Regions from separate parts of the Homo sapiens genome. Here all the other regions are linked to region 4. The links are contacts of gene promoters, found by promoter capture Hi-C in blood cells and fetal thymus (Javierre and others, 2016). All regions are on one chromosome and are shown on one strand. Each heading gives the region's core, a stretch centred on a gene start or on the middle of the fragment in contact. The rest is flanking DNA. Distances are from core to core; before and after follow the strand shown. Region 1 has its middle 36 kb from the start of IL13RA1. Region 2 overlaps DOCK11 (dedicator of cytokinesis 11). Region 3 overlaps IL13RA1 (interleukin 13 receptor subunit alpha 1). Region 4 holds the start of DOCK11 (dedicator of cytokinesis 11). Region 5 overlaps IL13RA1 (interleukin 13 receptor subunit alpha 1). Region 6 has its middle 3.9 kb from the start of WDR44. Region 7 has its middle 18 kb from the start of IL13RA1.

Region 1 (3,841 bases), core at 1,025-3,524, 200 kb after region 4:
CAGAGAAAGCTAGGTAAATCTGTTTTTTAAACACTACATGTATTAGGCATTAAAGTGTATATAGTTTAATGATTTCTTGAAGTGATTTGTCCTCTACAAATTAATTAACACCAAAGAATACATTTCTCCTATACTGATTGTTTTGCAGTTAAGCTTGAGTCCAATTTCCCCTAGAAGTTGTTGTTTTGATAGTCTTTGGACATACTGTGAAATGTGATTAAGTCACCCTTGGTAGTGTTAGTTTATCACTACGGTGAAAAACCATAGAGAAAATAAGAAATTCCATGGAAATTTTCCTAGTAACCAGTTGTCACCACTGGCATCATGTATATAGATGGGATTGTTATTGTTACCGTATTTATATGATTTGGCTGCCTATCAAAATATTATATATTTTCAAAAGTGAAACAGAAAGCAGCAGTGGTAGTAATGTCCTTGGAACCTTGACCAACAACACATCATCCTAGAACTAGAGATGACTCTAATTAAGAAACTAGATAAGTCATGATAATAAGAACGCACATTTTTAAAAAACTATTTCGTATCTTTTTTTCTTCTAACTTTTAGGTTCAGGGGGTACATGTGCAGGTTTGTTCCATGAGATATTAGCTTTCTCTGAGATGAAGAACCTGAGTGATATAATGGATTAATAGGAATTTCCAAACTCTTCAAAACATTGATAATTAGACATATGTCTTGGGCTTCTGATCTCCAAAATGTTGGGCTACCTTTAGTCTCAGTCTTGTTCTAACAGTACACTAGTTCAGCTATCAAAAGACAAGGAGAGGAAAGGAGTAAAAGTTGGTTGTGGGTGGGGAGTGGGTTTGTGTAACAAGGCTATACCCCTGTCTTGGGAGTTGGTGAGTAAGAGTGCTTTATTTATCTTTTTTTTTTTTTTCTAAGCACTTAATGGTCACTGTCTAAAAACAGTGTATCTATGTTTGTTCATCTCCTAATGGGAGTCGTGGCTAAGTTCTAAGATTTTGCCTCTGTGCATAGCATTTTAAAACTTTTCCAATGTTCTTTTTTTTTGCTTTGTTTTTCCTTTTTATTGAGATATAATTCACATACCATACAATTTACCCATTTAAAGTACACAATTCAGTGTTTTTTAAAATTACATCCACAGAGTTGTGCAAGTATCACTACAATTTAAAACATGTTTATCACCTGAAAGAGACCCCATACTCATTAGCAGTCACTCCTACCGGTCATCATCCTCCAGCCCCTGGCAACCACTAATCTACTTTTTGTCCCTACAAGGTTTACCTGTTCTGGACATTTCATATAAATGCAGTCATACAATATGTGGCCTTTTGTGTCCAGCTTCTTTGACATAGCATATTTCCAAAGTTCATCGATGTTGTAGAATGTATCAGTACTTCATTCCTTTTTATGGCTAAATAATAATCCATTATATAGATACACCATATTTTATCTTCTCATCAGTTGATGGACATTTGGGTTATTTCCACTTTTTGGCTACTGTGAATAATGTTGCTGTGAACACTCACAAGTTTTTGTGTGGACATGTTTTTAGTTCTCTTGGGCATGTACACAGAAGTGGAATGACTGGTTCATATGGTAACTCCATGTTTAACCTTTTGAAGAATTGCCAGACTGATTTCCACGGCAGCTGCACCACTTTATATTACCACCAGCAATGTATGAGGGTCCCAGTTTCTCAATATTCTTGACAACACTTGTTATTATCTGCCTCTTTGATTATTGCCATCCTAGCAAGTGTGTAGTATCTCTTTGTGGTTTTCATTTGAATTTCCCTGATGTCTAATGATGTTGAGAATTCTTTCATGTGGTTACTGGCCATTTTTGTATCTTCCTCAGAGAAATATCTCTTTTAAGTCCTTAGACCATTTGCTTTTTTGAGACAGGGTCTTGCTGTGTTGCCCAGGCTGGAGTGCAGTGGTGCGATCTCAGCTCACTGCAACCTTCCCATCCCGGGCTCAAGCGATCCTCCCTTTTCAGCTTCCCAAGTAGCTGGGACTACAGATGAACACCACCACACCTGGCTAATTTCTGTAGAATTGGGGTTTCGCCATGTTTCCCAGGCTGGTCCCGAATTCCTGGCCTCAAGCAATCCACCCACCTTGGCCTCCCAAAGTGCTGGGATTACAGGTATAAGTCACCGTTCCCAGCCCCTTAGCCCATTTTTAAATCAGGTTGCTTTACTATTATTACTATTATTGTTGAGTTGCAGGGTTCTTTATTCGAGATGCAAGTATATGATTTAAACATATTTCTCCTGTTCTGTGTGTTGCCTTTTCACTTTCATGATGGTGTTCTTTGAAGCATTCAAGTTTTTAAAAATTTTGATGCAGTCCAATTTATATTTTCTTTTGTTGCCTGTGCTTTGGCATTGTATCTAAGAAGACCTTGCGTAATCCAATTTCACAGAAATTTACACCTATGTTTTCTCTTAAGAGTTTTATAATCTTAACTCTTACTTTTGGTCTTTGGTCCATTTTGAGCTAATTTTGTATATGGTGTGTTGTAGGGATTCAGATTCATTCTTTTGCATGTGGATAACCAGTTTTCCCTGCACCATTTGTTGAAAAGAATCTTTCCCCCATCCAATTGCCTTGGCACCCTTATAAAAAATCAATTGACCAAAAATATGTGGGTTTATTCTGGACTCTTAGTTCTATTCTATTGACCTCTGTATCTGTCCTTACGCTAGTGCCACAAAGTCTTAATTACTATAGCTTTGTAGTAAGATTTTGAAATTTGGAAGTGTGAGTCCTCCAACTTTATTCTTTTTCAAAATTGTTTTGTATATTCTAGGCCCCTCGCATTTCCATTTTTATTTTATTTTATCTTATTTTTTTGAGACGGAGTCTCACTCTGTCCTCCAGGCTGGAGTATAGTTGCACGATCTCGGGTCACTGCAACCTCCACCTCTTGGGTTCAAGTGATTCTCCTGCCTCAGCCTCCTGAGTAGCTGGGATTACAGGAACATGCCACCATGCCTGGTTAATTTTTGTATTTTTGGTAGTGGTGGGATTTCACCATGTTGGCCAGGCTGGTCTCGAACTCTTGACCTCAAGTGATCCACCCTCCTCGGCCTCTCAAAGTACTAGGATTACAGGCATGAGCCACACGCCCAGGCCCATATTAATTTTAGCATCAGCTAGTCAATAGCTGTTTAAAAAAAAAAAAAAAAAAAAAAGGCAGGCTGGGCGCAGTGGCTCACGCCTGTAATCCCAGCACTTTGGGAGGCCGAGGTGGGTGGATCACGAGGTCAGGAGATGGAGACCATCCTGGCTAACAGGGGGAAACCTCGTCTCTACTAAAAATACAAAAAAAATTAGCCGGGCGTGGTGGCAGGTGCCTGTAGTCCCAGCTACTCGGGAGACTGAGGCAGGAAAATGGCGTGAAGGTGGGAGGCGGAGTTTACAGTGAGCCGAGATTGCACCACTGTACTCCAGCCTGGGCAACAAAGCAAGACTCCATCTCAAAAAAAAAAAAAAAAAAAAAAATGGCCGCTGGGATTTTGGCAGGATTTGCTGTGAATCTGTAATTCAATGTGCAGAGTATTGCCATCTCAATAATAATAAGTGTTCCAGCCCCCATGAAATAGGATGTTTTTCTATTTATTTAGATCATCTTTAATTTCTTTCAACAATGTTTTACAGTTTTCAGTATATAAGTCTTACACTTCTTTTGTTTATTCCTTATGCCCACAAGGAAGTTTATTCCTTAGTATTTTATCCTTTTTAATGCTATTGTAAATGGATTTGTTTTCTTTTCTTTTCTATTTATTTATTTATTTATTTATTTAGTGAGATGGAGTTTCGCTGCTGTGGCCCAAGCTGGAGTGCAA
Region 2 (4,219 bases), core at 858-3,357, 170 kb after region 4:
TAAACAATGAGATGAAAATTACAGTGACACACTTCATAAACACTTTATGAATTGATTTTTTAAAATACACAAATCTCAACTTAGCTCTGGCTTATTTAGTTAAATTAATGATACACCTAGAAGCTTTACCTACTATTTCTACATAGTCTGTCTCCCTATCAGTAAAATAAGGACAATAATACTATCGTGGTCACTTCACAATACATGCGAAAACTTAAAAAGTCATGAAGTGTGAGAATAATGTCAGGTTTTATCATTGACCTACTTGGCAGTGAGATTTCTTAAAAGCAAGTTGGTGTCCTTTTACCCTCAGAACCTACAAGGATAGATACTTAAAATATGTTTGTTGAATTGATTGATCATAACAGAGATGCAAGATACTTGAATTTTTATTCCAGCTTAATTTTTGACTGTATAGCCTTGGACAAGTTAATTCATGTTTCTGGATATTAGTTAGATGATTTCCCAGAGACCTGCAGGTTTTACAGGCTGACAGCAGGAAGATTCAGAGGATTTCATGGGGCTTAACTGGTTCAGTACAACTGAACTTATATCCTTGCCTTCTAAACAGCAGCTTCAGTGTATTCATAGAAATGGCTTTGAGCTTGACCCTTTTTTATACTCTTAAGGAGAGCAATAACTTTTCTTAATAATCAAAAACTGTAATTAGTTTTCTGTATAAACACATTTGTTGGAAATCTTTTGGGTTCTACAAGTAATTTATACATACTTCTATTTGATATATACAGGTAGAATCATGTTTTACCAAGTGCCACTTTATTTTTCAGTTTGCATAATAAGGCTTCTTCCTTAAACCCTAGCCAATTAAAAAAACTGACACTGATTTAGAAGTTACATTGAAATGAAAAATACAAACAGTTGTCCATTTAGTGCTTGTATTTAAATATGTGAGTTAAACCGGTAATAACGCAATGTAACTTGTTTCCAAAAATGTATTTCTGACTTGATTTGCAACAGTTTTTTTTTTCTGCATGACACCACCTCAGGAGGTCCTGATGACGTGTGCCCCTGCAATCGATTTTAAACATATAATTAATATATAATTGGGCTGGGCGTGGTGGCTCACACCTGTAATTCCAGCAGTTTGGGAGGCCAAGGCAGGCAGATCACTTGAGGCCAGGAGTTCAAGACCAGCCTGTCCCCATGGTGAAACCCCGTCTCCACTAAAAATATAAAAATTAGCCGAGCGTGGTGGCACAGGCCTGTAATCCCAGCTATTCAGGAGGCTGAGGCACAAGAATCTCTTGAACCCCAGGGGCAGAGGTTGCAGTGAGCCAAGATCGTGCCACTGCACTGCAGCCTGGGCAACAGAACGAGACTGTGTCTCAAAAATAAAAATAAAAATGATATAATTAATATGTAATAAAATCTTAAACAATTTGATGAATTTTGACAGTTGTATACACCCATGTAACCTACCATCAGAAACAAAAAATAGAACATGCCCATTCCTTCGGGAAAGGTTCCCTTGTGCCCATTTCCAGTCAGGCTCCCCACCTCCACCATCTGATTTCTATCACCATGAATTAGTTTTTATGGCATAAAAATGGAATCAATCATTCAATATGTACCTTTTTTTAATCTGGCTTCTCTTGTTTAACCTAATGTTTTTGAGATTCATCCATATTGTTGGGTATATCAAAAGTTTGTTCTTTGTCTTTATATACAAATTTTAAATCCATTCAGTTGATGGATTTTGAATTGTTTCCAGTTTCAGGCTGTTACGAATAAGTCTACTTTAAACATTCCTATCTATGACTTATTGTTGACATATGCTTTTTTTCTCTTGGGTAAATACCTAGGAGTAGCATTGCTGAATCCTAGGGAAGATATATGTTTAACTTTTAAGAAATTTCCGAAGAGTTTCTCAAAGTGGTTGGACCGTTTTATACTGTTTGCCAGTAGTAGATGAGAGTTCTAGTTGCCCCACATCCTCCCTAGCATCTGATATTGCTGATCTTTTTAAATTTTAGCCATTCTATTAATATTAGGTGTGAATCAACATCTCATTGTGGCTTTTATTTGTATTTCCCTAATAACCGATGATGTCTACCACTTTTTCAGGTGTTCCTTGGCCTCTTTTGTATTTTCTTTTGTGAAATGTTTGTCTTTTATCCGTTTTAGAAATCACATTGCTTACTTTTTATTGTTGTTTTGTGGGAGTTCTTTCCTGGATATAAATCCTTTGTCAAGATATATGTGCTGTATATTTCTTTACCAGCTTCTGACTTGACCATTCACTTTCTTAATTGAGTCTGTGGTTGAGCAGAAAATTTTGGTTTTGGTTGTAATTGATGAAATCCAGTTTATTATTTTATAATAATTTGTTCTTTTTGTATCTGGTCCCAAAAATCTGTGCCTACCTCAAGATCCTGATAGTGTTGTCCTGTGTTTTCTCCTAGAAACTTGTTTCCGAGTTTTGTTTAGGTCTATAATATATTTAAAGTTCATTTGTGGAATGAAATAGAGGTCAAAGCTCTTTTTTTAAGACAGTTTTTTTTTTTTTTAAGACGTACCATTTGGGGAAAAACAAGACTTTCCTTTTGTCACGTTGAATTTACTTTGGCACCTTGGTCAAAAGTTCGGTTTTTCATATTTGTGTGGGCTATTTCTGGATTCTCGGTTCTCTTCCACTGATCTATTTGCCCATCTTGATGCCAATATCACACTTGATTACTATAACTTAAGTCTTGAAATCAAGTAGTGTTAGCCCTCCAGCTTTATTCTTTTTCAAAGTTGTTTTGGCTATTCTACGTCCTTTGAATTTCCATATAATCTTTAGAATCATCTTTTCTACTTCCTCAAAATAGCCTGAGAATGGAGAGTTTAACAATATTGAATTTCTCAATCAATGGACATTTATCTGGGTTATCTTTAACTGCCAATAATATTTTGTAGTTGTTAGGGTAGAAGTCTTGGGTTAGATTTACTGGTAGATATGTGATGTTTTGATGCTATTGTAAATAATATTGTTTGCTTTTATATTTTTATTTTTTATTATGTTGTTGCTAGTATATAGAAATATAATTGATTTTGTATGTTGATCTTACGTCCTGCAACCTTACTAAATCTGCTTATTAGTTTTCATAGTTTGTATGTCTTTTATGATTTTCTACATATACAATTATGCCATATGCACGGAACAATTTTACTTTTTCTAATCCTGTATGCTTTTTCTCTTTCTCTTGCCTTATTGTACTGGCTAGAACCTTCAGCATAATGTTGGATAGAAGTGGTGAGAGCAGACATTCTAACTTGTTCTCAATCTTAGGAGAAACATGTCTAGCCTTTAAGGTTTTTAGTAAATGCCCCTTATCAGATTGAGGAAGATCTCTTCTATTCTTTGTTTCTTGAGTTCTTTTTAAATATCATGAATGGGTGTTGAGTGTTGTAAATGCTTTTTTCTTGCATCTATTGAAAGAGATATAATTTTTCTTTTTTATTCAGTTTATGAGGTTGTATATTACATTGTTTTTTTTTTCTAATTGTAACCTAACTTTACATTCCTGGGATAATTCATACTAAGTGTGCACCTTATTTTTAATTCCCCCAATGTTTGTCCCAAAATTGCTGGAAATTTTAATTTGGCTAGCAGATGTTAATATACAGATGTTTTATTCAAGTAGCAACATTTATTTCACATATACTATCCAGTGACACTAAAATAATTACTGGAAAAGCCAATGTAAGTAAAATATTGTCCCTACTCTCAAAGAATCACAGCCTATTGGAAAAGTCAGATATGTAGATAATACGTAAATAATGTACAAATATAGTGATAAATCTTTGCCAAAAAAGTAGTGAAATAGAAAAAAAGATGTGTAGTGTCTTGCCTACCCTATATTGATAAGGAGAAGGATCCTGGAAAAGGTGATACCTAAAGTGTTTTAAAGAGATTAACCAAGTAGAAGGGATTAAAGGGAGGAGGGGCACAGCCTGAACAAAGACATAAAGCTAAGACACACCATTGTGCTTCAGGGAAACTGCTAGTAGTTCGCTGTTGTTATAACATAAAGTACAAAGTTTGGTATGATGAATGATGAGATTATGGAAGTATCAGCCACATCATTGCAAGCTTTATGTGCCACATGAAGGAGCGTGTCCGTTGTTCTGTGAGTGATGCGGAGCCATTGCCAGATTTTAAGAAAGGGAGAGTGGCACGCTCAGGTTTGCATTTTAATCAGAACCCTATGGCAGA
Region 3 (3,965 bases), core at 1,432-3,931, 250 kb after region 4:
TGAGGTCAGGAGTTCAAGACCAGCCTTGCCAACATGGTGAAACCCTGTCTCTACTAAAAATACAAAAGTTAGCCAGGCGTGGTGGTGTGCACCTGTAATCCCAACTACTTGGGAGGCTGAGGCAGGAGAATCGCTTGAACCCAGGAGGCAGTGGTTGCAGTGAGCCGAGATCATGCCACTGCACTCCAGCCTGGGCAACAGAGCAAGACTGTTTAAAAAAAAAATCTGATGGAAGGAATTTAGGAATTTAGTTTCTTGTGTGATACAGAGAGGTGTACTTGACTTGGCAGTTGTTGATAATCTGGGTTCCTACTTTATTAGTGCCAGTTTAATATTGTTTACCTTGAACTTTGAAAGAAATTAAAAAAAAATTATTTGAAAAAATTTTCCCTCTACTGTCCCTTTTCTATGTTATTATTCATATGCCTGAAGCATAAGGTTCGGATTTAGATACTAAGGCATTTTTTAATTTTTTATGTTATTTTATTTTGAAATGGAGTCTGCTCTGTCACCCAGGCTGGAGTGTAGTGGTACGATCTCAGCTCACTGAAACCTCTGCCTCCTAAGTTCAAGCAATTCTTGTGCCTTAGCCTGCCAAATAGCTGGAACTACAGGTGCATGCCACCACGACCAGCTAATTTTTTTTGTATTTTTAGTGGAGACAGTGTTTTGCCATGTTGGCCAGGCTGGTTTCCAACTCCTGACCTTAGGTGATCCTGACCTCAGGTGACCTTGGCCTCCCAAAGTGCTGGGATTACAGGTGTGACCCACCACGCCTGGCCACTAAGGCATTTTTTAAATTAAAAATTCCATTGTGATAATTTTTGTGTACTAAAACTCCGTAACCCTCTAACTGGAACAATGTCCATTATAATATGAAAACTGGGATTATCTTCATGATGATTCTAATTTGACTGTATTTGACTGTACAGTCTAATTTGACATTTGACTGTACATTTTCCCCTGATGTCTTCAAAGGGCAAATATAGCTTCCAAACAAGAATTGCCATGGATCCTTGGATAAGGGTGGCTTCTTCAAAGATATATGGGACTTGTGCTTAGTAAAATTGTGAGGTTGGTAAAATTTGTATTCGAAGCCTTCCTGCCACCACTACCATGATCCTGGAGGCAGGTCTTCAGCTTCACATACTCAGAAACTTCATTTCCTCAGCACACATGCATCTCTCAGGGGCTGATTTTTTACTTTGTTGTGAAAATGGAATGGTAATGGTGAAGCATTCTAGGAAGATTTCTGTTAGCATAACTGGTGCATTTCATCCCTGTCGGCAGAGCCTATATGGGAAGCCAAATGTTAAGTAGGTTTCTTGGTGAGGAATCAGAAATTAGTTGTAAAAATATACTTGTCTAAGAATAGCTGGAGGCCCTACTGAGAGTAAACAGCTTTGCCAGTGGGACAGAAAAATTCAATGCCCACATTCCTGTATCACCCTCTTTTTCCTGCCTGTCAGGATTTTGCTCACAGACATTTCTTTTTCTGTTCTTCCAGGGCTGACCAACTCCCTTTTCAGAGTACTGTCTTGACTGGACCTAAGAGCTATTCTGGTTCTATAAAGTGATTTTGTTTTTGTGTCCTTGCTATGATTTATTCATTGTTGACTTGGTAGTTACTTCTCAGAGGCCATCCATATGTCCTGGTTTTGGGGGTATCTCACAGTTGCCCTCATGCTCAGCTGGCAGCAGGCATGTGACATGGCAGAATAGCTCTTTAGGGTAGCAGATAGAACTAACTGTGGCAAATTTTCCTCTTCATGGCCGTCAACATGTAGATGAAAGGAAATACTATCTCTGACTTGAGTCAGAAGCTATTGCAAAACAGGAGGTGCTCTCCTTGGAGCTCTGATTAAAAGCAGCTCCATTCTTAATTATTCCAACTCTGTCAGTTTGGGAAATGTTAATTTCCCGGAGAGCCCATTAATCTTATTATTCTCAGTCATAGTAACCAGACTGGTGATTTATGTCTCTATGATGTCTATAAATTGGCTTCCTATGGTTCCACAAAGCTTATCTACTTTTCAGAATGAGAGTGTATATACTCAGCACATATAGCAATGTTTGAAATTTATACATATATATGAGGTAGTCAAAATAGTCAAACAGTAGAGAAAGAGGTTTAATGAAAAGTCTCTCTTCAGCCCTCAGGCCCTCCTCCTTTACTTCCTTACCCAGAAGTAACCATGATTACTGGATTTTTTTTTTGAGACAGGGTCTCACTGCATTGTCCAGGCTAGAGTGCAATCTTGGCTCACTGCAGCCTCCCGCTCCCAGGCTCAAGTGATCCTCCCACCTCAGCCTCATGAGTAGCTGGGACTATAGGCATGAGCCACCATACCTGGCCAATTTTTTTTTGTACAGATGGGGTTTTGCCATTTTGCCCAGGCTGGTCTCGAACTCCTGGGCTTAAGTGATCTGCCTGCCTCAGCCTCCCAAAGTGCTGGGATTATAGGCATGAGCCACTGAGCCTGGCATGATTCCTGGATTCTTAAAGCATCCCTTTTTAACCTTAATTTTCCTGGTACAGTGCATCTACTTCTAAGTGAATTTTGATAATCATATTGTTTCCTTTAAAATTGCTTTTAGAGAGTTGATATGTTAGCATTGTAGGTTTATAGGTAAATTTCATGTTTATACCTTTAAAATGTGGGAAATTGTTGTATCTACACCAGGGTTTCTCAATGGTGACACTAGTGACATTTGCTGAAGGGTTTGTTGTAGGAGGAGGGGGGCTGTTGTGTGCATTGTAGGATGTTTAGCAGCGTCCTTGACCTCTACTTACTAGATGCTGGTAACCTCCCCCTCCCAAGTTAGGACAATAAAAAGTGTTCGATATTACCAAATGTCTCTGAGAGCGGTAGGGAGAACAAAATCAGCCCCAATTGAGAATCACTGATCTATACCATTTGATAACTTTTTTGATAAAAAAAGCACCACATTTAGACATGCTAATGTTTCATTATATAAGTGTGTGTTAGCTGAAGCAATGCCTTTTTCAATTTTCTAACCTTAGAAAATAGCTCCGGAAACTCGTCGTTCAATAGAAGTACCCCTGAATGAGAGGATTTGTCTGCAAGTGGGGTCCCAGTGTAGCACCAATGAGAGTGAGAAGCCTAGCATTTTGGTTGAAAAATGCATCTCACCCCCAGAAGGTAACAACTGAAAGCGCTATCTCTTGGTGTTTAGAGAATAAATCTGAATGCTCCAATGCTTTTGTGCATTGTTCATTAATTAATTCAATTCTCAAACATTTTCTGAGTCTAATAAGTGCCAGGCATTGTACTAGGTGCTAGCAGCTCAATGAAAATATGAGTATGTCTCTGCCTTGAAGAAGCTTACAAACAACTTGAATAACAATGCCTAATAGTTATATAAAATTTAATAATTTAAAAAATGATATACACATGCACGCGCGCGCACACACACACTCACACACACACACACGCACACCCCTCCTTTAGATCGAGAGTCACAAGCTTATCTTGTGAAGTGAGTAAGGCATGTATTATTACCCTGATCCATTTTATGAGGAAGAAAGGAACTGCGTGACTTGCTGTATGTCTTCACATTTCAGGCCCAGTGCTTTAAAAATAAAACACAAAATACTCTCTTACCCATTATGTGTGATACTTAGTTTGATATGCAGGATATATTTGGGAAAAGATGTTGTTTAAAGAGAAAAATATTATGCTGGCCTGGCTCCAATACAAGTCTAGACAAGATAGTACAAGACAACCTTAGGAAAAGCTGTCAAGTAGTGAGGATGATCATTGTTCCCCAATCCCACCTCTCCCAATGTCCTTCTGGCTCTTATGTTACATACAGGGAGTAGCATATACTGATTAAGAGCAGGGCTACCAGAAACCAACTGTCTAACTTTAAATCCCAGCTCTGCCAGCTACTAGCTGTGTAACCTTGGGCAAATTTCTTAGCCCCTCTGCACCTTAGTTTCC
Region 4 (4,217 bases), core at 847-3,346:
ATTCATCTAAACGTGTCATAAACTGCAGGGGTTTATTTTTCTTACATAAAAAGGAACTAGAGGTAGGCAGTATCAGGCCTGGTTCAACAGTTCAATGCTGTCTGGATTCTACATTGGCTTCTCTGAGATTGCCTTGGCCTTGCCTCATGGTTGCAATATGGCTGCCAAGGGCCAAAGCATTGCAAGAAAACATCCCTCTCAGGAAGAAAGTGGGGCCTGGGCCTCTCTCCTTTTTTTTTCATCAAGGTAGAAAAACTTTCCCAGGAACCCTCCTCTCACACTTCCCTCTTATATCTTATTGGCCCAAACCGATTGGGAGTCTAGACCATCCCACTAGTCAATAAGAGGGAGCTTATCATGGTTTTTTCATCAGTCATGATTCATCACCTGGAGTTGGGCCTGCCTTCCTTAAACCCTGTGGCTCTGCCCTATATCTGAAGTAAATCTGGGCTCTCTTTGCAAGCAAAAAGTGTTATAGCTATTGTGGTGGTAACCAACAGCATGAGCCACACAGGCATTTATGGAACAGAGGGTATGAATTCTTGGAGATCAGCCTACACGCAACAATTAACAAATTTTACACGTACTGTGCAAAACTAAGATTTGTGACAGAATGTCTTTAGAGGACTTCCAGGTCCCAGGCCCTCTAGGAGCCTCCATATATGCTTTATTGAGACTGATGGGATGGCTGAAATAGGCTTACTGCGAAGAGACTTGGCCTTTTCTGGGTTCAAAGAAACCATCACCACGCATGCCCTTGTTTCCATAATAAAGTCCCCTAAAAGACTGTTTGGTCTTTGAGGGTGGGGAAAGTGCCCGATGGGTGGTGGTAGGACTGCTTTCAGAAGGGCTGCTCGGTCCCCCAGACTGAGGGCCATTTTCAAACTCTCAACAAATGAAATAACCAGATAGAAAACTGCCACCATCAGTGGAGCCTTTCACTCTGCACTTCAGGAGGTCTGACAGGGTCACTAGTACTTCAAGATTCCCGTCCCTATTTCTGTCTTAAGCATGTTCGTTTTATACCCTGTTATGAGATGTTCTTTGATTCTTGGAAAAACAATTTCTTGGAAGCTGAAAAGAGTAAGGAGATGAATAGGAAATGGAGAGGTGAGTGCAGGGCACTTGTAAAAGCTACTATAAGATTGGTAAGTCCACCAAACCCAGGGAGATGGCCTTCCTAATGCCCACCCCCACCCCACTCCTGGTGCAGTCAGTGCTGACCTAGGGATCACCTGCCACAGGCTCATCCTAATGCCCACCCCCACCCCACTCCTGGTGCAGTCAGTGCTGACCTAGGGATCACCTGCCACAGGCTCAGGCTCCACCACCCAGCTCTCCCCCGTGGGGGACGGAGCGAGGGGTGCCGCCACAATAAGTTCCCACTTCCAGAAGCATGCTCTCTCCCCAGTGTTGCCCCCTGTTAGGTGAGCCAACTGAGTAGGAAAACGGTGTGGGCGAGGAGGGGGACCCAGTCGAGCCGCTCACGCTGGAAAGCAGCTCTCTGTCCTTCGACATTGGTGCGACCCTTCCCCAAGGAGCACACAAAAGGCGGCTGCTCCACGTTGTTTTCCAGCCCCTAGCCGCCTGGGCCCTGGGGGCTTGCGGGGTGGAGGGACGTGAGAGTTCTCCAGCCCTCCTGCGGGCACTGCAGCTCGGAGGCGGGAGAGGAGCACTAGGGCGGGAGAGGAGCACGCCCCACTCTTGGAGACATTTCATCACCCCTCTCTGTTCCCCCACCCCACCCCGCCCTCCCCACTCAAGCGGAAAAAAAGAAGCAGCCCAGATCTCCCCTCCCGGATGCGGCTGCACCAGCAACATCAGCTGCGGGCGGAGCCCGAGCGGTAGCCACTTCCCCCCTCTTCCCTCGTGACCCTCGCCCCCACCTCCAGTTCTCCCTCCCCCTCTACACACCCTTCCCCATCAGACACACCCTCCTGCTTCGGCTGGTGGCGATCGGAGCTCGGGCCCTCTAGGGGAGGGAGCTGCCGCCGCCGACGCCGTGGGGCAGGACAGTGAGCGGGCGAAGCGAGCGAGAAAAGGAGGGAAGGAGGGAACGAGGGAGGAGCAGCGGGTGGGAGGTGGGAGGGAGGAGCAGCGTGAGCCGCGCCGCCGCCGAGCTGCGATGTGGCCGGCCGGCCGGCGAGTAAACAGAGGGAGCAGCAGCGGCCGCGGCCGCCGCGGGCCGGGGCAGTGAGTCCACCCGCCCGCCGAGGTCCGCCCGCCCGCCGAGACCCGCCCGCCGCCGCTGCCATGGCCGAAGTGCGCAAATTCACCAAACGGCTCAGCAAGCCTGGCACGGCGGCTGAGCTCCGGCAGAGCGTGTCTGAGGCCGTGCGGGGCTCCGTGGTGCTGGTGAGTGGCCGGGGGACGGGGCATCCCGGGGGACGCGCTCCAGGCGGGAGCGACGCGGGAAGGGGCAGGAACGGCGCCAGTGCGGCCGCTTGGTGCGCCGCGCGCTGTCTTTCTCCGCTCCAGTAAGTTTTCGCACCGGCAGCCGCCGGCCGGGGTCCGAGTCCCAGGCGCCGGCTGACAGCTCTCCGGCCGCCCGGCACGGCGGAGGCGTGCGCCGGGATGGAAGCAGACGGGCAAAAGCCGGGCTCGGACGGCTGCGGAGGAGGCGGAGGCGGAGGCTCCCACCCAGGGTCGGGGCCGGGGGTGTGAGCTAAAGAGCTGACCTCGCGCTGCTCTGGACTCGGCACAAAGAGCCGGGGACAAGGGCACGACGAGATCCTGATCCCCTCCCGCGAGCACCTGAGGCCGCCTAGGCGGAAGGATGCGATGAGCGTTTGGCACACACACTCTCGCGCGCACACATACACACACTGTGTACACAAAAAAGAACCCCACCCAGAAAGCCCCGGGCGCCCAAGCTCGGGCTGGCGGTGAGAACAGAGGAAGCAGAGCGACTTCCTCCTGCAACTGGGGAGAGAGGGTGGTGATGGGTGTTGAAGGGGTGCTGCTGCGGAGGAAGGGCATTAGAAACAACGGGGTTCTGCGACAGAGTGGGCGCAGGGTCATCCACCGCAGGGAGAGTGTGTCCCTCGGGGACACGCGAGCGCTCCAGAGGCAAGGGGACCAAGGGGACGGTGCCGTGGGGATTTGGGGGAAGACTGGGTGTGTCAGTCCAGGGATGGAGGACCTGGGGTCAGAGCCCCACAGCTCAGGACTGGGGGATGGGGATTCGAAAGCGCGCTGACTCCCTGGGAACCCTCCCAGAGCACCCTCAGCCTTATCCAGATTGTCTGACTCTGGAGAAAGGCTAAAGGGTGCTAACGGGCACTTGCCCCTTCTCTTGTTTTCAAGACACTCGTTGCCAGTTTCCTGGACAAGCGAACAAACCCTGAATAAGCAATCGGACTGATTAATTAGTGTTTGTTTTGTTACTTTGTTTTTTGGTTGTTGTTTTTGTTTGTTTTTGTCTCCCTCAGCTCCATTTTACAGCGAGTCGTTTGCTGTGTTTAAATTTCACCGTTTAAGAGAGGGCTCTTTTTGTTAAAACAACTTGTCATCGGAAGGGAACTTCACAGCTTTTCCTTGTAATTTTTCTGTTGATCTTGTAGAATCAGCAATAAAACCCAGCATTAAAGGGAGGCCAGGGGCTTGATCCCAACAGTGGAGAAAGTTGACATTAGTGGGAGTTCTGGAGGAGGATCAAAGGTAAACTATGTACCTTTGAGATAAAGATCTGATCCCTAATAGCTACAACTGTGCAAACCTAAGTGACTTTAAAGAAATCTCTTTATTGTGGCTAGACCCTTGAAAGTTTAATTCTGCTGTTTAGTGGAGCTAAATCCAGACCTTTAATGTTACTTTAATGGACTTGGCTTGTGTATTTCAGTCTGATTTTGGAGTGAGGACCTGTTGAGGTCAGATTGGAGCCTTGCCTGTCATCACAGCCAGTTAAGAGAGGAAGGCAAGCTGTGTGCAGAGCATTTATACCAGGGCTCTCATCTTGGGTGATTGTTAACACGTGATTCAATCTACCTAGCAGAGAACGCTTTCCTAAATTCAGAGAAAACAAAAAACCTTCCTTGAGCGGGGTTGGCTGGCCTTCTACCACAACACGTGAAGAAAGCTGTAGGTGGCCAGATTTCTCGAGAATAAATGGGACTAAGAAAACTTCCACTGGGATTTGATCAGCACTTGACCTGCCACCCTAGCAGCAAAAAGTTAACATTAGCATTCTTTCCCCTGTTTTTAGGTTTTCAAAAGAA
Region 5 (4,063 bases), core at 993-3,492, 230 kb after region 4:
TGCCCTCGCGAGGCCCCGCGCTCGGCGGCTGCGGCTTCCCGCGCGGGATCTCTGGGGCCCGGTACTGGGGCCGGTTCGAGGTGGGACCCGGGAGCTGCGGGGTTTTCCCGAACTCCGGGTGCGGCGGAGGTGGCGGCAGCGAAGTAAGAGGGCTGCGACTTGTAGTGGGAAGAGCCCAGGAGGCTGGCGTCCAGGCGTGCGGGGGCGGGGGGCCCGAAACATGCCCACGGCGTCAGAGGGCCGTGGGTCAGCGCCCGGAATGTCGCCTGTGAGCCCGGGAGGAAATGAGGCGCCAGAGCCGGCGGGGACCACGACCGAAGTCCAGGCGAGCTGAGAACGCGCCGGGGCTCTTTGCCCGAGGCCGCGCCAATCCTCACTGTCTAAGGGTGGCTCTTGCGAGTGGAAGTTGAAGGGAACCTCTAAACATCTCAGTCCTTGTTGAAAAAGGACGTGACGCTCATGACCTCCTCTGGCGTCGAAGAAATCCTTTGGGAAATCCAGAATAGCATCCCGGCAGATGCTCCCCCCACCCCACTCTCTTTAATAAACCTTATATTTTAGGGTAATTGTAGATTTATGGAAAAGTTGCAAAGATACTTCAGAGAGTTGTGTATATCCCTCACCCTGTTTGGTAACTTCTAGTTAATCAACCTGGCAGTTGTGAAAAATTGGGAGTTAATGACTTCCTTAGGAGCAGCTCCTGGAAGGAATGGCCTTCTGGACGTTTTTGGTGACAATGAAAGCCCCAAACTGTATAGGTTTTATTATCACATTGACACAAACACTTATATATGCTTATTGCATTTTTACCAATGTGCTTTGAAATCCAAGTTGAAATGTTGATTAGGAAACCTTAATGCCCTCTATGGATTCAGTCAATAAAATACATGCTGCCAGGCAGTGTTTAGGGGCTGAGGATGCAGCAGTGAGCAAAACAGATGAGGTGCCTGCCCTCAGACATATCGGGGGGTGGGGGTAAAATATATGATATGTCTGAGGGTGTTAAGTAGAGAAAAACAGAGCAGGTGGGAAGGGGTTTGCCATTGTAAAAAGGGTGGATCGAGAAGAAAACAAATGTTGCTGAAAGGTGGCATTTGAGTAGAGACCTGAGGGAGACTTGAAGCTTGTCAGTCAATAATTATTCAGGTGTCTGCCTTATTTAGTACTGAGTCAGGCCCTCTAGGTTGACTTAGAACCTGAGAGTGTATAGCAAAATTCTTGCCCCAAAAGGGCCTCTAGTTTAGTTGGGTACACCTGATTTCCGTAATCATATGGGGACATTGCAGTCCAGAGAAGGGAAGGAACTTGTCTAAAGTTACCCGTCTCATTAGTCTCCTGATTTTCACAGTGCCACTCCAGCACCCTCCCTCCTACAGACTCACTCCCACACACACCTGAAACAACAGCTGGCCATCTAGAGAATACTGGCAACTCCCAACTTCATCAGTCCTGTCACAATGGTTTGTCGTTAGCTTGCTTATTTAGAAAACAAACTTCTTTCCCCATTAAAAGTATTGATAGAATTGCATTGAGGTATGGTGGGAAAAAATTAGATGTTTCCAGTGAGACTTGAGTTTTAGTGGTTCTGATATTTACCACCTGTGGGACTCTGGGCTGGTCATTTCCTCTCTTTTGTGCTGCAGTTAGTTTTCTCATCTGTGAAATGAGGAGGTTGAACTGCATAAATTCTAAGAGCTCCTCCAGCTCTAATCCTCAGAGTGTTTATAAAAGTGATTAGATTACTAGCTTAGTTTAACCTGTCCCACTCAATGGCCCACATTGTGGCATGTCTTAATTATAACTAGCATGTATATAGCATTTATGCCCAGCAGTTTTCTAGCTGCTTTACTTGTACTATTTCATTTAATCTTTACCAATAATATAACTTGTAGGTGCTGTTATTAGTCCCATTTTGTACACGAAAAAGTTGAGGCACAGTGCGACCAAGACCCTTGCCCAAATTCGCATACCTGGCAAAGTGGAAGAGCTAGGTTTCCAACCCTGGCAGCCTGATTCCAGAGGCCATGCCCTTAACCACTGTACTCATTGCTTCTGCCCAGCAGAAAAGACGAGAGTCCTTAGCTGGACACCTCCCAGGGTAGCAGGGCAGGACGGCTTGGGACCCACGAAAGTATGTGCAAGCCATTTGTTAAGAAGCTAATGATACTATATTAGGCCGGGTGCAGTGGCTCATGCCTGTAATCCCAGCACTTTAGGAGACTGAGGCAGATGGATCACTTGAGGCCAGGAGTTTGAGCCTGGCCAACATGGCAAAACCCCGTCTACTAAAAATACAAAAATTAGCCGAGTGTGGGATTACATGCCTGTAATCCCAGCTACTCAGGAAGCTGAGGCATGAGACTCATTTGATCCTGGGAGGCAGAGGTTGCAGTGAGGGAAGATCAGGCCACTGCACTTCAGCCTGGGCGACAGAGCAAGACTGTCTCAAAACAAAAAAAGAAGCGAATGATACTACATTGGAGACTGGCTTTATAGTGGCTGGGCTGTGTGGTCCAAACAACTAGTACTATAGGCATTCAAAAGAGAAAAAGCTGACGGTTGGTAGTGTTATGGAAGAGGTAAAACTTGAGCTAGATCTTCTGGATGACTGGGATTTGAGTAGGTGGAGAATTTATTCCAGGTGGGGGCAATAGCAGGAGCAGAGACCCAGAAATGAGGGCAAGAGTGCTCCTTTGTGGTCAAGAAGGAACCTGGCTTGGCAGGAGAGTGCATTGGTAAAGTCAATCCAGGCAGAATAGCTTGATTTGCCCTTGAAAGCTCTGAGTCCGGCACAGCATGGGAAAAATAACACAGAAGGAGGAAGCAAGCAGGGAGACTTCACTGGGTAGGGGAGCCCCTGGAGTGTGAAGCTACATAAGAATCTATGGTTGCAGGTCTCCACTAGAAAAATGTGCTGCGAACCCTTCCTGTCCAGGACCATGACTTACTGGTATCTTCCCACCTGGTGGGGCACAACAGAGCATATTTGCATGATTGGGGTAACTAAGAAAGATGTTGGAAGAAAAAAACGAACAGGAGTTGATGCCTGAGTGGATGTAAGGGAAGGGACAGATGACTCATATATGACTCTTGTGATTTCCTTAACTTTTCCCAAAATGTGCATGCCTCTGCTAGCTGCTGTGATTGGACAGGCGAGAGCAAAAGCTATAAGCTAAGCAAAATGCCTTCTTATGAAATAGTAGATTGTGTTAACTCTTAATTTAAATAGGATGTTGTGCTAGATGACTGTACAGACTTGGGATTTGAGGTTTAGATACAGACATACTTGGGTCCCTTCCTACTCCCTTTTCTGAAGTCAGTGGTGCAATCCCCAAGACATGGTTGAAATTAGGTGCCTAAGGGAAGCTTATCAGGTAGAAGGGATACTTGTTCTGTCTCAAAGGCCAGGGACACATATCAATTCAACAGAAAACCAAAGCAACCCTGGCCAGGCACAGTGGTTCACACCTGTAATCCCAGCACTTTGGGAGGCCGAGGTGGGTGGATCACTTGAGGTCAGGAGTTCGAGACCAGCCTGGCCAACATGGCGAAACCCAGTCTCTACTAAAAATACAAAAATTAGCCAGGCGTGGCAGTGCACACCTGTAATCCCAACTACTCGGAAGGCTGAGGCAGGAGAATCGCTTGAACCCAGGAGGCAGAGTTTGCAGTGAGCTAAGATCACACCAGCGCACTCCAGCCTGGGTAACAGAGCGAGACTCCGTCTCCAAAAAAAAAAAAAAAAAGCAACTCTTTAGAATTGTTTTGTCTTAAAGAAATAAAGCAGATAGCTAACACATAGCACTTGCTGCCTGTGGGCACTATTCTAAGCACATTGCTTGTATTAACTCATTTAATCCTCATAATAACCCTTTGCAAGAGGTTACTATTATTATCCTCATATTAGAGATGAGAAAACTGAGAAATAGAGAGGTTAAGTAATTTGCCTGCTGGCAAGTAGTAGAGGTGGGATATAAACTCAGGCAGTCAGGCTCCAGAGTCTGTGCTCTTAAACACTACACTATGTTGAAGTTATACACGAAGAGCTGTTAGAGACCTTTAC
Region 6 (3,861 bases), core at 240-2,739, 150 kb before region 4:
TATATTAGCCTGGTGACTGACATTTCTATATAAATATTTGCCTTTAGATTGAGTTTCAAGCATTTAAAAAAAATAAAGATGCCATGGGTGGTAGATAAAAGACATCTTCTCCAGTTTGTGACCCAGAATAATTTTTTTGAAGGATGAAGTTCATATGCCTTTATTCATTTCTCTTTAGATCACGCCATATATACTCAATGTGTTGAAAAACAAAATTATGCTTAGTCCATATTGTTAGAAGTATACCTCCAACCTTGCTCCAAAAAGCTTCCGATCTGTTTCACAGATTCACCATTTCTAGTTGCTTTAGAAATTACCATTACTTATTCTCTTTATGTGTCAGGCTTGCAGTGCAGAAAATATGACTTTCTACTGGTAGACTAATTGCATTTCAAGATTTGCTTTGTGGGTATTTTTTCAAAGTTCAGCTTCTTGGTGGTATTTACTGAAGTGTTCCAGAAACCATCTTACCTACAATAGGCCCAGGACTCATAGTTATGCACTATGTAGGAAATGAATTTTAGATCTTAATTTTGTATGTAAATCTACCTTGTATATGATAGGTTATATATTTTCTTTTAATAATTTCCCCTTATTTATAAGGTAATACATATTCGCTGTAGAAAATCATTACACAAAGGTACAAATAAGGCACAAACCTCCTATTATTATTATTTTAATCAGCAACAAAAGATGCTCGCCGTAAATCCTTTGTGAATATTTTTCCAGAATTCTCCATACACAGAGGTATACACATGTGCATAGATAAATGACTGACATGAATGGGATTATTCTATACACAGTATTCTGTAACATCTGTTTTCATTTAACACTTTATGAGCTCTTTTCATGTCAATGTATATAGAGACTTACCCCTTAATAACTTATATAAACATGTTGCTACTGTCTGCTAGTATCCTTTTGTTTGTCTGTTTGTTTTGCTAGTATCCTTTCCTTGAAAAAACATCCACTGAATATTCTATGCAGTCCTAGTAAGGAAGATAATCACAGTAGTCTCTCCTGATTTGGCGAGTGGCAAGCAATCAGCTGACCCAGGCCTGAACAAATGAGAGTTCTGTATGCTCCTAGCTAGATGGGCCTCCTAAAACCAATCAACATCCTCTCTGAGATTTAATATATAAACACTGACAGAGAAAGTCTCACTTCCTTTGGGACTGAGAGTTATTAAGACATTATAAGCTAAAGTTCCTTGCAGCCATCTTCACTAACTACAAGAAGGAAGTTGTTTGCAGTAGGAAAATTGAAGCCAAAACACAAAAAGAAGCAGATGGACAGAAAGAGAGAGCGTATTGATATATCTTGGGCCCTGGATCCAGCCATACCTGAAGCTACCACATCTGGACTACAGTCAGTTCTGCTATAAAGGGGCATGAGCATTCCTAAAAATCACTCTGCTATGCAAAATTGTTCAATAAAAACCACAAGGCTTATGGGGAAAATGGGGTAGGGGCACAACATTCAAAAATTTCATCAGTGATATATACACAAAAAGATATGAACCTAATAAAAATGGCAGCACAGTTTTACACATGTAAAATGATTAGGAAATACATAAATGCTACAGTAAAGATGGTACTTTACTTTGAAAAAGACCTGAAATTTGCTTGTGGAAGTAGGTATCAGAAGGGTTGCAGGTTGTAGACCAGGTACAGTGGCTCACGCCTGTAATCCCAACACTTTGGGAGGCCAAGGCAAGAGGATCACTTGAGGCCAGGAGTTCAAGACCAGCCTGGGCAACACAGTGAGTAATATTTAATCTTTTCCTGTCAACATTATGTCTCAAATCACCTAACACTGTACATAAAAAATTATTTTTCCTGAGTTATCACTTTAGCTCTTGCTTGTAACAAAAGGCTACATGCATTAGGATGTACTTGGAACACTGATGTTCTGAGTGACTGGTTACCCTTGGGGTTGCGGCAAAATTAGCCTCAAGGATGTTGCCAGTTTGTATTATTCTTGCCAAGAGGAGAGAATGAACATCCCACAGATAAGTTGTTCCATACAGTGGCTGTGACCTCTAGTCTTTGGAGAGTAGAGTATTTGCTATGCAGATAAGGAATTTAGTTAAGCATAAAAATTTTCCTTAAACCCACCTTACCCTTAGATGTATGAAATTTTAATAGTCATTGGGAATGAGCCAGGTAGGGAAGGTTTTATTCTTATTTTTATCTACACACATGATTTTGCAGCATCATATGATCTGCTGAAACCATTTAATTTGAGGGTATTTTTAGTTCTGAGGTACCCTAGAAAATAGTATCTTATGGACCAAGGATCTGAAAATTTTTCTGTAAAAACGGCCTGATAGTAAATATCTTAGGCTTAGGCTTTGTGGGTCACACAGTCTCTGTCCCAGCTACTCAACTCTGCCATGATAGCGGCCATGTGCAATATATAAACAAATAGTCCTGGCTATGTTCCAACAATATGTTATTTACAAAAACAGAGAGTGGGACAGATTTGTCCAGTGGACCATAATTTGCCAACCTCTGCTTTGGACCAATAGTTTTTCATTTGTTCTTTTTTTTTATCGGGCCTTAGGACAGTCTCCGGAGATTCAAGGAAGGTCAAACAGACAGGGACCTCAACTTTGAAACCCTGTTTCAAATAGAGCAGTTTTTATTTGTATACTATATCGACTTTTGCATAAAATTAAGTTTGATTAAGGTTCCATTTCTAATACAGAGAAAAGCTTCAAAACCACTGCCTTGGATGATACCTAAAATCTGCTGCTTTAAAACTCAAGAACTGATATTTCAGGCAAAATAAACACATCTTTTACATCTTTAAAAGTGATGATGGGGCCGGGCGCGGTGGCTCACGCCTGTAATCCCAGCACTTTGGGAGGCCGAGGCGGACGGATCAAGAGGTCAGGAGATCGAGACCATCCTGGCTAACACGGTGAAACCCCGTCTCTACTAAAAATACAAAAAAATTAGCCGGTCGTGGTGGCTAGCACCTGTAGTCCCAGTTACTCGGGAGGCTGAGGCAGGAGAATGGCGTGAACCCGGGAGGCGGAGCTTGCAGTGAGCAGAGATCGAGCCACTGCACTCCAGCCTGGGCGACAGAGCGAGACTCCATCTCAAAAAAAAAAAAAACAAAAAAAAGTGACGATGGGCAGTATTTATATGTGTTTTAACGTTTCCAGCAATTCATTCTAGCAATTGGCTTTCTCATGCAATTGATAAAAGCATTTAAACGGAAACTTTAAAAGCTCTAAAAATGTTACCAGTTTATCATTCCTATCCATTTTACCTTTTTCTAAGTATAATGTTTAAGGCAGCTTAAAAGGTCCAAGAGAGCTGATATGGTATATTGAAAAAAAACAGAGCACCAAACTAGGACTCCGTATTTGTCTCCACTGCTAGATTATTAGCTTTTTGTAGGCAGAAACTTAAGTTGTCTTTTTCTGTTTTGTTTTTGTTGTTGTTGTTGTTGTTGTTTTTGAGACAGAGTCTCCCTCTGTCGCCCAGGCTGGAATGCAGCGGCGGGATCTCAGCTCACTGCAACCTCCGCCTCCCAGGTTCAAGCAATTCTCCTACCTCAGCCTCCCGAGTAGCTGGGACAACAGGCAAGTGCCACCACGCCCCCCTAACTTTTGTATTTTTAGTAGAGACAGGATTTTGCCATGTTGGCCAGACTGGTCTCGAACTCCTGACCTCAAGTGATCTGCGCACCTCGGCCTTCCAAAGTGTTAGGATTACAGGTGTGAGCCACCGCGCCGGATCTAGTTGTCTTTTTAATCTGTCAATTGTCCTCAGCATCTAGAACGCTTCATGACACCAAATTGTATATGTTTACTGAACTGAGCGACTGGTTTCCACACACGGCATTTTG
Region 7 (3,862 bases), core at 96-2,595, 210 kb after region 4:
CAGCACTTTCGGAGGCCAAGGCAGGCGGATCACTTGAGGTCAGGAGTTCAAGACCAGCCATGGTGAAATCCCATCTCTACAAAAATGCAAAAAAAATTAGCTGGGTGTGGTGGCACATACCTGTAGTCCCAGTTACTCGGGAGGCTGAGGTGGGAGGATCACCTGAGCATAGGAGGTCGAGGCTGCAGTGAGCCAAGATCGCACCACTGCACTCCAGCCTGGGTGACAGAGGTAGACTCCGTCTCAAAGAAATAATAATAATAAAATAAAATTACCTTTCTCTTCATTACAAAAGTGAGCTATGACAGCAAAACTTGCTCAATGAATAACACAAAAACCCTTTCCACAACAAACACCTAGAAATGTAAAATATAACAACATCACAAATAGCTATTTAATATCATCTCCCCTTTCCTCAAACCTTGTTTCCTCTTCTGCATCTCACTGTCAGCAAATGATCTTCTTTCTCATTGCACTGAAAAAAAAACTGGAATCAGAAGAGAGTATCCTCCTCCCACTGCCAAATCTACCAACCTCCCTGCTGCCTTTCCTGATCTCATCCAATCTCATGGTCATATATATAGGCTTATGGCTCCCAAATTTGAGTTTCCAACCCAGATTTCTCTAATCTCAAAAATATTATGCCTGGCCAGGTACAGTAACTCTCGTCTGTAATCCCAGTACTTTGGGAGGCTGAGGCGGGTGGATCACTTGAGGTTAAGAGCTCGAGACCAGCCTGGCCACACGGCGAAATCCCGTCTCTACTAGAAACGCAAAAATTAACTGGGCGTGGTGGCTCACACCTGTAATTCCAGCTACTTGGGAGGCTGAGGCACGAGAATCACTTGAACCCGTGAGGCAGAGGTTGCAGTGAGCTGAGACTGCACCATTGCACTCCAGCCTGGGTGACAGAGTAATACTCTGTCTCAAAAAAAAAAATTATGCCCAGTTGTATTATGACCTTTCCCATTGCATATCTCAAATTTAACCTGGCCAGAACAGTACCCTCAATCTACCCCACAAGCCTGTTCTTTTCCCAGAATTCCCCATCTCGGTAAATGGTGTCACCACTCAATTAATTGCTCAGACCAGAAACCTAGGAGTTGAGTCAGCCTCTCTCTTTCTCTCATACCTTGTATCTAATCCTTCACTAAATATTTGTGTCTCTCCCTTCAAAATATACTTTTTATCTCATGCCTAGCTAACCACAATAGCCTTCTAACTTATCTTCCTGTATCCACTCTTTACTACCTTAGAGTCTATTCTCAACTCAACAGCCAAAGTGATCCTTTTAAAACATAATGCAGGCTGGGCACAGTGGCTCACACCTGTAATCCCAGCACCTTGAGAGGCCAAGCTGGGCAGATTGATTGAGCCCAGCAGTTCCAGACCAGCCTAGACAACATGGTGAGACTCCATCTCTACACACACGTGCACACACACACACACACACAATATATATATATATATACACACACATACACTATATATATACACACTATATATAGTGTATATATATACACTATATATATACTATATACATACACTATATATATACTATATACATACACTATATATACTATATACATACACTATATATACTATATATACACTGTATATACTATGTATACACTATACACTATATATACTATATATACACTATATATACTATATATACACACTATATATACTATATACACACTATATATACTATATATACACACTATATATACACTATATATATACACTATATATACACTATATATATACACTATATATACTATATATACACACTATATAGTGTGTATATATATATACACACTATATATGTGTGTATATATATATACACACATATATATGTGTGTGTATATATATATACACACACACACTATATATATATATATAAAATTAGCCAGGCATGTTGATATGTGTGTAGTCCCAGCTACTTGGGAGGCTGAGGTGGGAGGAGTGCTTGAGGCCAGGAGGCGGAGGTTATAGTAAGCTGAGATCGCATCACTGCACTGCAGCCTGGACCACAGAACTAGACCCTATCTCAAGTTTTAAAAAACCAACAACACATAAGGCAGGTTAAGTCATGCCTTTGTCCAAATCCTCCAATGGCTTCTCTTCTCATTCCAAGTAATCGCAAAAGACTATGAAGCCCTGGCTAATCTGGCACTTTGCTGCCTCTGGAGAAGAGCTGCTATCCCTCTCCCACTCCACTCCAGTCACTCAGGCCTCCTTATTGACCTTTGTACACACCACGTCCACTTCCACCTCGGACCATTTGTAGTTGCTGTTATCTCCACTTAGAATGCTCTTGCCCAAAATGATACCATAGCTTTCTTCCTCATTTTAGGTCTCGACTCACGTGTCACCTCATCACAGAGGCCTTCCCTGAAAAAAAAATAACCACTCACCCCACTCCCGGGACCCCCCCATCCCCTTAACCTGCTTTATTTTTCTCCATACCAGTTCACACCCTCTGACATCATAGTATTACATTTTCTGGATTATGGTCTGTTTCCCCCAAATAGAATGTAAGCTCAATAAGGGTAGGACTTTCATCTTGTTCACTGCTGTATCTTCAGCTCCTAAAACAGTTTCCAGCACATAGTAGATGCTCAATAAATATTTGTTGAATGAATGGATAAATGAAAGGCACAACTGAGTGCAAGAAAAATAGAGTCCAGAAAGGATGAAGGAAATGAAAACTAGAGGGACATGCAGGTGAACTGTGATCTAGTGATTCGAGATTCAACCCCTGTGGCCAAGACTATTAGTTCTGCTCTTTCTTTTCCTTTCTTTCTTTTTATTTCTCCCTTCCTTTCTTCCTATTTTTTTTTTTTTTTTTTTTTTTGAGATGGAGTCTCACTCTGTCACCCAGGCTGGAGTGCAGTGGCGCGATCTCAGCTCACTGCAAGCTCCACCTCCTGGGTTCAGGCCATTCTCCTGCCTCAGCCTTCCGAGTAGCTGGGACTATAAGCGTGTGCCACCACGCCCGGCTAATTTTTTGTATTTTTAGTAGAGATGGGGCTTCACCGCGTTAGCCAGGATGGTCTGGATCTCCTGACCTCGTGATCCGCCCGCCTCAGCCTCCCAAAGTGCTGGGATTACAGGCGTGAGCCACTGCGTCTGGCCTGTTTCTCTCTTTCTCTCCCTCTCTTCTTTCTTTCTCTCTCTCTTTCTGCTTTCCTTTTCTTTCTTTCTCTCTCTTTCTTTTTGAGACAGAGTCTCACTCTGTCACCCAGTGGCGCGATCTCAGCTCACTGCAAGCTCTGCCTTCTGGGTTCAAGCAATTCTCCTGCCTCAGCCTCCGGAGTAGCTGGGATTACAGGCATACGCCACCATGCCTGGCTCATTTTAGTATTTTTAGTAGAGACAGGGTTTTGCCATGTTGGCCAGGCTGGTCTCAAACTCCTGGCCGCAGGTGATCTGCCTGACTTGTCCTCCCAAAGTGCTGGGATTACAGGTGTGAGCCACTGCACCCAGCCCAAGACTATTAGTTATTTTCTAACACCCATTCTCCTCTACGTCCACAGAAATAGAACTACTAATTTTTAACTGCATACATGGCTACCCAGAGTAATGACCACTGTGACTAACCTCTCACCAAGGGGATATAAAAGCAAATTTCATGTGGAGGTACTGGGAATCTCAAAAGATAGCTGCCATGTCCCTTTCTTCTTGGCTCTTTAGTTTTTCCTATTGGCTGGAATGTGAAAGTGAAGCCTAGAGCTGGAGGAACCATCTTGGACCATGAGATGACCTGAGAAATAGAGGTCATATAGAGTAGAGCAACAAGATCAAAGGAGGCTGGAGTGCCTGAGAACATTACGAGGACAAACAGTCCACACTGGCT

Evidence for each region. The method cuts DNA at HindIII sites, captures the fragments that hold promoters and counts their contacts. A CHiCAGO score of 5 or more calls a contact.
Region 1: a fragment that was not itself captured here is called in contact with the fragment with the promoter of DOCK11 in region 4 in 5 of 17 cell types (total CD8 T cells, neutrophils, naive CD4 T cells and 2 more); the score reaches 7.1 in total CD8 T cells.
Region 2: a contact is called between a fragment that was not itself captured here and the fragment with the promoter of DOCK11 in region 4, in 5 of 17 cell types (activated CD4 T cells, naive CD8 T cells, non-activated CD4 T cells and 2 more). The highest score is 7.5, in activated CD4 T cells.
Region 3: a contact is called between a fragment that was not itself captured here and the fragment with the promoter of DOCK11 in region 4, in 2 of 17 cell types (neutrophils and monocytes). The highest score is 9.7, in neutrophils.
Region 5: a fragment that was not itself captured here is called in contact with the fragment with the promoter of DOCK11 in region 4 in 4 of 17 cell types (neutrophils, monocytes, M2 macrophages and 1 more); the score reaches 11.4 in neutrophils.
Region 6: a contact is called between a fragment that was not itself captured here and the fragment with the promoter of DOCK11 in region 4, in 2 of 17 cell types (fetal thymus and neutrophils). The highest score is 6.2, in fetal thymus.
Region 7: a contact is called between a fragment that was not itself captured here and the fragment with the promoter of DOCK11 in region 4, in 1 of 17 cell types (neutrophils). The highest score is 6.8, in neutrophils.

Annotation. Positions count from the first base shown.
Region 1 is chrX:118,689,423-118,693,263 of GRCh38, forward strand. No RefSeq gene overlaps it. Among named protein-coding and RNA genes, the nearest start is that of IL13RA1, 36 kb to the right of the region's middle. The HindIII fragment of the contact is 4,246 bases long and covers 152-3,841 here.
Region 2 is chrX:118,664,909-118,669,127 of GRCh38, forward strand. The region is part of intron 45 of DOCK11 (dedicator of cytokinesis 11); the gene reads left to right. Among named protein-coding and RNA genes, the nearest start is that of IL13RA1, 61 kb to the right of the region's middle. The HindIII fragment of the contact is 3,973 bases long and covers 122-4,094 here.
Region 3 is chrX:118,743,929-118,747,893 of GRCh38, forward strand. IL13RA1 (interleukin 13 receptor subunit alpha 1) reads left to right here. Exons shown (of 11, transcript NM_001560.3): 3 at 3,026-3,164. Among named protein-coding and RNA genes, the nearest start is that of IL13RA1, 18 kb to the left of the region's middle. The HindIII fragment of the contact is 1,325 bases long and covers 2,020-3,344 here.
Region 4 is chrX:118,493,719-118,497,935 of GRCh38, forward strand. DOCK11 (dedicator of cytokinesis 11) reads left to right here and starts at 2,097. Exons shown (of 53, transcript NM_144658.4): 1 at 2,097-2,355. The coding sequence starts at 2,254. RefSeq lists enhancers at 1,435-1,504, 1,907-2,885 and silencers at 1,915-2,054, 2,165-2,244, 2,335-2,394, 2,565-2,624. The HindIII fragment of the contact is 5,195 bases long and covers 1-4,217 here.
Region 5 is chrX:118,727,849-118,731,911 of GRCh38, forward strand. All of the region lies in intron 1 of IL13RA1 (interleukin 13 receptor subunit alpha 1), which reads left to right. Among named protein-coding and RNA genes, the nearest start is that of IL13RA1, 2.3 kb to the left of the region's middle. The HindIII fragment of the contact is 2,243 bases long and covers 1,122-3,364 here.
Region 6 is chrX:118,340,234-118,344,094 of GRCh38, forward strand. No RefSeq gene overlaps it. Among named protein-coding and RNA genes, the nearest start is that of WDR44, 3.9 kb to the right of the region's middle. The HindIII fragment of the contact is 2,449 bases long and covers 266-2,714 here.
Region 7 is chrX:118,707,612-118,711,473 of GRCh38, forward strand. No RefSeq gene overlaps it. Among named protein-coding and RNA genes, the nearest start is that of IL13RA1, 18 kb to the right of the region's middle. The HindIII fragment of the contact is 7,114 bases long and covers 1-3,862 here.